2 separate regions of the Homo sapiens genome follow, and region 2 is linked to region 1. The links are contacts of gene promoters, found by promoter capture Hi-C in blood cells and fetal thymus (Javierre and others, 2016). All regions are on one chromosome and are shown on one strand. Each heading gives the region's core, a stretch centred on a gene start or on the middle of the fragment in contact. The rest is flanking DNA. Distances are from core to core; before and after follow the strand shown. Region 1 holds the start of GDAP1 (ganglioside induced differentiation associated protein 1). Region 2 has its middle 15 kb from the start of LINC01617.

Region 1 (3,727 bases), core at 391-2,890:
TTATTGAAGAAATTATAAAATGTCTGACACATAACAAGCTGTTAATAAATGATTTACCTAAATGCACTATACAAATTTAAGCCCTATAATTCCTTAGTAAAGATATAAAATTCAAACAATTCAGAAGTGACTGGGGCAAAGAACTCAGGTATACTAACATTCTATTCTCCTTTAAGATTTATTGCTCTTTTTTCCCTCTTGTTTTTAAGGTGAAACCATTTGGTATATTAGATGAAATCGTCACAGTGCACATTTAGAATATTATGAATTTAAGACTAAGAAATCACCAACACAAACCACACATTTGCAGTTTTTTGCAAGTGAATTTTTTTAAGTTTCAACATTAACATTTGTATTTTGCATTAAATTATTTTAAATAGCATTACACTAGCCTATACAAAATTTGTTATTGACCTATTTGATATTTGTGTGCTTATGGAAATGGAAAAGGTTTTTAATCCCAAACCACCATCATGACACAAGAGAAAGAGAGAGAGGAGAGAGAGAAAAAGAGAAAGGGAACACATAGTTGTGTTGAAAGTAAATCCAAGAAATCGCAAGTAGCCTTAACATTACCATCCAGGAAAGTCTGTTCAAGATAATCAATGATCTGAGTGGCCTCACAAATTATGTTTTCCCCGTGGATAAGGACAGGCACTTCTCCAGTTGAGTTCAAACGCATAAACCAAGGCTCATTGTGCTCACTCAAGGGCAGACTTACATCATGTTCCTCGCACTTCAATGCCTTTTCAGCAATTACCAAGCGCACCTGGAAGAGTTCACACTGGTTACTACAACACATGTAAGCTTTCAATTAAATGACTTCCCTGGACACCGCTAAGCAGCCTTTCTGGGCTTCCCTGTGTTACCGACATTTTCAACAGTCGTTTTAACAATTCCTATTCCTGGAATTAACAAGTAAGGAAAGAACAATACTCAACAAATTAAGAGAAGAACACAAAATAAGTAATGAAATGATTCTGACTGTATTCATTAAACAGTCACCCTCCTCATCACTACCACTTTCTCGGTGTCCTAAACCTGATTATGGGTCCTCCCCAGACAAGAACCTGACATGTAGGTACATCAGCTCTTGCTGAAGACAGTGAATGCGAGAGAGCAAAAGAAGAGATCGCAGATTATGAGGGTCCACAAAGGCACCTCCCTCTGCCTCTCTCCGAAGACCAGCAGGCAAGGCCTCCAGACCAAATACTGAAAATGATGCTTTTTTGTCGCATTTCGCGAGAGGCGGAGCCTGGGCCATAGCCACATAGGATCATCTCCGATCGATTCTCCCCGCTCCCCACCCGGGCGCGTCCCCGCCTGGAGGGAGCGCCTGCCCGGGGTCAGGACACTGGAGGCGGATTTCTAGGTGGACCGGCTTCCCTGGGCGGGACTCAGAAGGAGCTGTCCCAGTGCTGAAGCCCGATCCGCGCCACCCTCCGCCGCCAAGGCCTGTTGTACCTTTTGAGAGCTGAAGGAATGCGTCCAATGGTACAGAATGAGCTTAACCTCCGCGTCGGCCTTGCCTTCCGCCCTCAAGGGCGGGCTCCCTCTCTGCTCTTCCTGCCTCTCAGCCATCTTGGGGTGCGCGAGCACGGGTGCGCCCAGCCTGTCCGCCCTGGACTTCTCCCTCCCACACTGCCCCGCAAGGCGTTTCCGGGTTTTGAGGGGTACCTGCCGGAAGGAGGGCGCGCGGCCCGCTGGGAAATGTAGTTTCGCCGGCGGCAGAGTCTGCGAACACGCGGGGTCTGCGACTGGAAAGCCCCTGGCAAGCCTGGGAGTGCACCTGGGAGGTGCAATTGAACGGTTGTTTTTTGGGTTTGTTTTTTTTTTTAGAAGAAAAAATAAAAAATATGAGACCCTGGTTATGAAGGGCAGTAAGGAAGAATGATGATAGCAAATTACTCTTCGGTTTGGAGGTTGCTCAGGTATAAAAGCAGCAATTTCCCAAGATACTGAGGGTTGCTCTTGGAGCCTGTTCCTTTGTTGGAAAGGAAGTTCCGGTCGACAAGCAAAGCAACAGGAAAAGGATCTATGAGCTTTCATTAGAAGATGCTACTATGACATTAGTGGACTAATTCCACAAATTTGACTAACTGCTGTAGATTAGAGAATAGTCTTGTATAAACAGTAAGTACTTGATTTTGATAATTAAACTGTGCTTTGTAAAAGAAAAAAAAATACCACTATGGAGTCATGCAAAAAAACTGTTTTTGTCATAAACAGCTAATAAACAATGGCGATATAAAATAGCCTAGTTGTTAAACACAAAAATTCTACAACAGTACTGCCTAAGTTCATATCCTGGTTTTTCCATTTTCTAAGTAAGAATAATAATTTTATTGTTTCCCTCATAAGATTTTTGTGAAAAATTAATAATAAAATGTTAAACACTCAGAACACCCTGTCACGTTGTAGGCACTCAGTCTTAGTCACAGGTTCAGTTGTCTTATAAACATTCTGTTATAACCATAGTCAGAATCATAATTTTATATTAGTCTAGTTATTATTGTATGTCTTTAAAAATTTGGCATCATATAGTAAGTTGATTTTAAAAATCTCTTTCAGTAATATGTATAAATATGACCATAGAATAAATGCCTGTATAATTTATCTGGCAAATATTTATTGAGCACCTACACTGTTCCAGACATTGTGCTGGCTCCTGGTAATATAAAGATGTGTGAAATCTAATATCTAACACTCAAGATATAATCTGGCAGTAGAGACGACCAAGGAAATAGACAATCACAATAAAGATGAGAACTGTCTTAGGGTGAACACAGAGTACTATGAGAAAGGAGGGGCAGGCAGCCAACCCAGGTCAGAGAAGGGCCCCTGGAAAAGACAAAATCTCATGAGGTTCTTCCTTGCCTTTACAGTACTTCATTTGTTACTCTCTGTAATTCTTTCATAATTTTTTAAGATTTCATAATGTCTTTTATATCCTTCAGTTAATTCAAGTGCTATAGAAAAGGTGAATTCCTTGCCAAAATTGTTTTTATCAGTTCACACTTAAGAGTAAGAGCGGAAAGAGGAAAACTTTGAAATCGGACAGAGTGGGGTTTAAATTCTAGCTCTACCCTAACTTGAGCTTTCTTGAGCTTTGACTTCATTGTGTGTAAAAAATGGATACATAAAAATTATATGCCTACCCAGATGGCTGTGGGAATTCAAGAAAGGATATATATAAAGCACCTAGGGTATTGCCTGGAATGTAGCCATTGATAAAAACATATGTGTAAAAGCCCCTTCACTGACATTAGGAGGGCATTATATTACATTTCATCCTCTCTCTGTAGGTCTCAAAATTTTTACAACTACCCATATAATCCTCCTCTCCCATTCCTCTTCAGAACTTCATTTTTTAATTATCCACCTTCAGATTCCTAGTTTTCTATTCCATTACCTTCAATAGCAAACACCACGCTTACTTTTGCACCAACCTTAATACTAAATCATCCTAAATATTTGAATAAATTCCAGTACTCGTGATAAGCCATGTGTCACCTGCAGCTGAAAAAGTCCTGACAATAAAGCCCTGGTCCCTCAAACACAACACTTTTCTCCATCACATCCTGCCCACAGCAAAGCCATAGAAGAAACACTGAATGACTTGATTACTTGGTGTTTAGTACAAAGCATTCATAGATCTCATTGGGAGTGTAAACATGCACAGAACTTCTGAAGGCAAATGTATCAATATGCTTCAAGAATCGTGAAA
Region 2 (3,727 bases), core at 647-3,146, 460 kb after region 1:
TATGTATAGATACGTCTATGTATATAGTTATGTGTTTCATTTTGTCACATTCCTTATTTTGTTGCTCAAACTTATCTTCAGCCAGTAAGATCCCTCTTCAAGGCCAGCTTCTCTAATCCTTTTAAACTGTTATTTTTCATTTCATTTGATACAGCCAATTAAGTAAAAGGAAGCAATATGATGAAGTTTAACATCTACCTCAATGATTCTCAATTTCCACTGGAGTGTGAACTTGAATTCCAGAGTCTGAAGAACGCTCTGTTTTTTTGTTTTCTTTTGTTTGAGACGGAGTCTCGCTCTGTCCCCCAGGCTGGAGTGCAGTGGCGCGATCTCGGCAGCAAGCTCCGCCTCCCGGGTTCGCGCCATTCTCCTGCCTCAGCCTCCCGAGTAGCTGGGACTACAGGCACCCGCTACCGCGCCCGGCTAATTTTTTTTTTTTTTTTTTTTTTTTTTTGTATTTTCAGTAGAGACGGGGTTTCACCGTGTTAGCCAGGATGGTTTCGATCTCCTGACCTTGTGATCCGCCCGCCTCGGCCTCCCAAAGTGCTGGGATTACAGGAGTGAGCCACCGCGCCCGGCCCACTCTGTTTTAAATAACTTACCAAACAGTAAAATTCTTGTTCTACAGAGACGTACCATGTCTATCTTGTGGTTTTATAATTCCTATGTCATATCATAGGAGAATATGTCCCCCAGTCCTATGGTATTATAACATAAAAAGCTATTAGGAGTCTTCCTCCACCTCAAAACCAATGTACATCACCCACACAGCCTTCCATCTTCAGACTCCTAGCATTTTGAAACACTTCTCTCTCTCCTTATTCTTTGACCTCTCAGACTCTCTTTAGGCAATGAAAATGCTCAAATCTCTTTCTAAAATAAGCAAATAAAAAACTAAACTGTTCCCTACTCTTGACTTTGCATTTATCTCATTTCCCACTTTCTTTTCTCAGATTAAGCTTTTTTTTTTTTTTTTTTGAGACAAAGTCTTGCTCTGTTGCCGGGGCTGGAGAGCAGTGAGGTGCCCTGGTGCAAACCTAGCTCACTGCAGCCTTGAATGCCTAGGCTCAAGGGATCCTCCTAACTTAGCCTTTAAAGTAGCTAGGACTACAGGTATGCACCACCTTGCCCAGCTAATTTTTTATTTGTTGTAGATAGAGATGGGGAGAGGGGCCCTCCCTGTGTTCCCTAGGCTGGTCTCAAACTCCTGGCCTCAAGCAATCCCAATCCTCCCCTCCCAGCTGCTTCTTCTCTTTTTTTAGACAGAGTCTTGCTCTGTCGCCCAGGCTGGAGTGCAGTGGCAAGATCTCGCTCACTACTGTAATCCCCGCCTCCCAGGTTCAAGCGATTCTCCTGCCTTAGCCTCCCCCATAGCTGGGATTTCTGGCTCTCGCCACCATGCCCAGCTAATTTTTGTACTGTTTTAGTACAGACGGGGTTTCCCCATGTTGGCCAGGCTGGTCTCAAACTCCTGACCTCAAGTGATCCGTCCACCTTGGCCTCCCAAAGTGCTGGGATTACAGACGTGAGCCACTGCATCTTGCCCCCTCCCTGCTTCTTAAACTGTTGAATTTTAGGTGTGAGCCACCGCACCTGGCTTCAGTTAAGCTTCTTGATGTATCTATTTCTTCAGTTACCAGTTCACGCCACAACTCATTCCAACAGAAAATATGGTACTCGCTACTGAGTACTGATTCCTGAGGACCTTTTTTTGGCTTCTAAATGCTCATGTTCCCCTAGCTTCTGACTTCAGCATCATGTTCTTCTCTTTCCTAATCTGTATTGGGGTGATCTCTTTATTTTCCTGGTTTAAATGTAATCATTTTACTGAATGTGCTGGACTCCATGTGGTGCTGTTGCCTGTTATCCTTTCAAACCTGCTTGATGGGCTTTCTCTGCCCTGGATGAAATCTCAGAAAGTTGCCAGAACTGCTCTAGTCCCTCTATCACAAGAACAGCCTCTTATCAGACATTAAAATGTTCAAGCCATCTAATGTTATCACAATCAAAAACTTCTACTTAAATGAGAGTTTCTCCCCACCTTCTCTCAGCTTAAGGGCCGGAAACTTGTGGTGTAGAATTGTCTGCTGAATATACTGAATATATTCCTTGTAGTAGTGGACATCTGTAGTTTATGTTTCTCTGGCATCTCTTATCTCCTCCCATTTTAGTTTAAGAAGCTTCTTCCTTCTGGGATGTCTCGTTACACGTGACCTGGGCGGGGCTGACCACCCCCACACTGCAGCCACAATGCTGTAAGAGTCAGCCAAGACCTAACCAATCAGAGTAAATACCTCACTTCCTTCATCACTATGATGATTAGTTGAGAGATGGAGCTGATTAAAGCCAATCAGATCTTTGTAGCTAGAACTATCCCTGGGGCTGCTGAGCTGGTAGGAGGGATATGAGCCTGGAGACTGGGGGTTATTTTGTTCACACAGAGACACAGAAAAAGTGGCCCTCCACTTCAGCTAAGCTTCTGTTCCCACAATTTCTTAAGGAATTTATTTTCCCCTCCCTATTTGAATTCATTTGAGATGGGTTTTACAACTTACACTTGAAAAATACCTGACTGAAATAGATGACCTATAGGAAACTTGAAAATCTCAAACATGTCCAAAAGGGAATTCTTTTTTCTTCCTCTTCTACTTTCATTGCCTCCATTTCTACTAACTCCTCTATTTTCAAACCAGAAATCTAGCACTCAACTCTTTCCTCCTCCTCCTTCCCTACAAACAACAGATCTCTCAGTCCTGTCTGCTCTCCCTCCTGTCGCTAGAGCCCTTCCCTTCCTTTCCATACATGTCCTAGTCCATCCTCACTTTCTCACTCCTTGGCAATAGCTTACTTTCCTGATTTTTCTTTGCTGACTTTACCTGATCAAATCTGTTCATCCACTAGAACAATCATTCTAAAACACAAGTCTGGTTTATTGTTTTTGTTTTTGTTGTTGTTGTTTGTTTTTTGAGATGAAGTCTCGCTCTGTCGCCCAGGCTGGGATACAGTGGCATGATCTCGGCTCACTGCACCCTCCGCTTCCCGGGTTCAAGCGATTCTCCTGCCTCAGTCTCCCAAGTAGCTGGGATTACAGGCACGCACCACTATGCCTGGCTAATTTTTGTAGTTTTAGTAGAGACGGGGTTTCACCATGTTGGCCAGGCTGGTCTCAAACTCCTGACCTCAGGTGATCCACACTCCTCAGCCTCCCAAAGTGCTGGGATTACAGGCGTGAGCCATTGCACCCAGCCTGGTTTACCACTTTCTATTTGGAAATACCTCGAATGTGCCAAATGATCTCTAAGATCAAGTCCAGCCCCCTCATTAGCCAACAGAACCTTCCATGAAGGGCACATGTTCTGAGAATCACCTCAAGGCTGTGTCACAGGCTAAATAAATAAAACCTTCCATGACCTGGTCTTACTTGCCTCTTTGGTCACATCTTCCACTCTGTCTTTACAATTTCTGTTAGGCAATACCAATCTGTTTGTCATCCCTTGTAAACACCAATCACCTAGTTATGTTTCCTCTCCCAATTCCTTTCCTGTACCCCTTTGCACCTCTGCTCAGATGTCGGCTCTTCCAGACACATGTCCTTAGCTCCCAGGTGGGGTCAAATGCTCCTACCGTTTGCTTCCATCATAGCCAGTAAGTAACTTTTCCCATATTCTGTTAAATCCTTTCTTAGATCCATCTTCCTGAGTATAAGCAATGTGAGGGCAGGAACTGT

The links. The method cuts DNA at HindIII sites, captures the fragments that hold promoters and counts their contacts. A CHiCAGO score of 5 or more calls a contact.
Region 2: a contact is called between a fragment that was not itself captured here and the fragment with the promoter of GDAP1 in region 1, in 1 of 17 cell types (fetal thymus). The highest score is 6.1, in fetal thymus.

What each region holds. Positions count from the first base shown.
Region 1 is chr8:74,348,316-74,352,042 of GRCh38, reverse strand. It overlaps GDAP1 (ganglioside induced differentiation associated protein 1), which reads right to left and starts at 1,640. Exons shown (of 6, transcript NM_018972.4): 1 at 1,465-1,640; 2 at 577-769. The coding sequence starts at 1,581. RefSeq lists an enhancer at 1,398-1,627. The HindIII fragment of the contact is 8,708 bases long and covers 810-3,727 here.
Region 2 is chr8:73,891,663-73,895,389 of GRCh38, reverse strand. No RefSeq gene overlaps it. Among named protein-coding and RNA genes, the nearest start is that of LINC01617, 15 kb to the right of the region's middle. RefSeq lists an enhancer at 2,100-2,179. The HindIII fragment of the contact is 572 bases long and covers 1,611-2,182 here.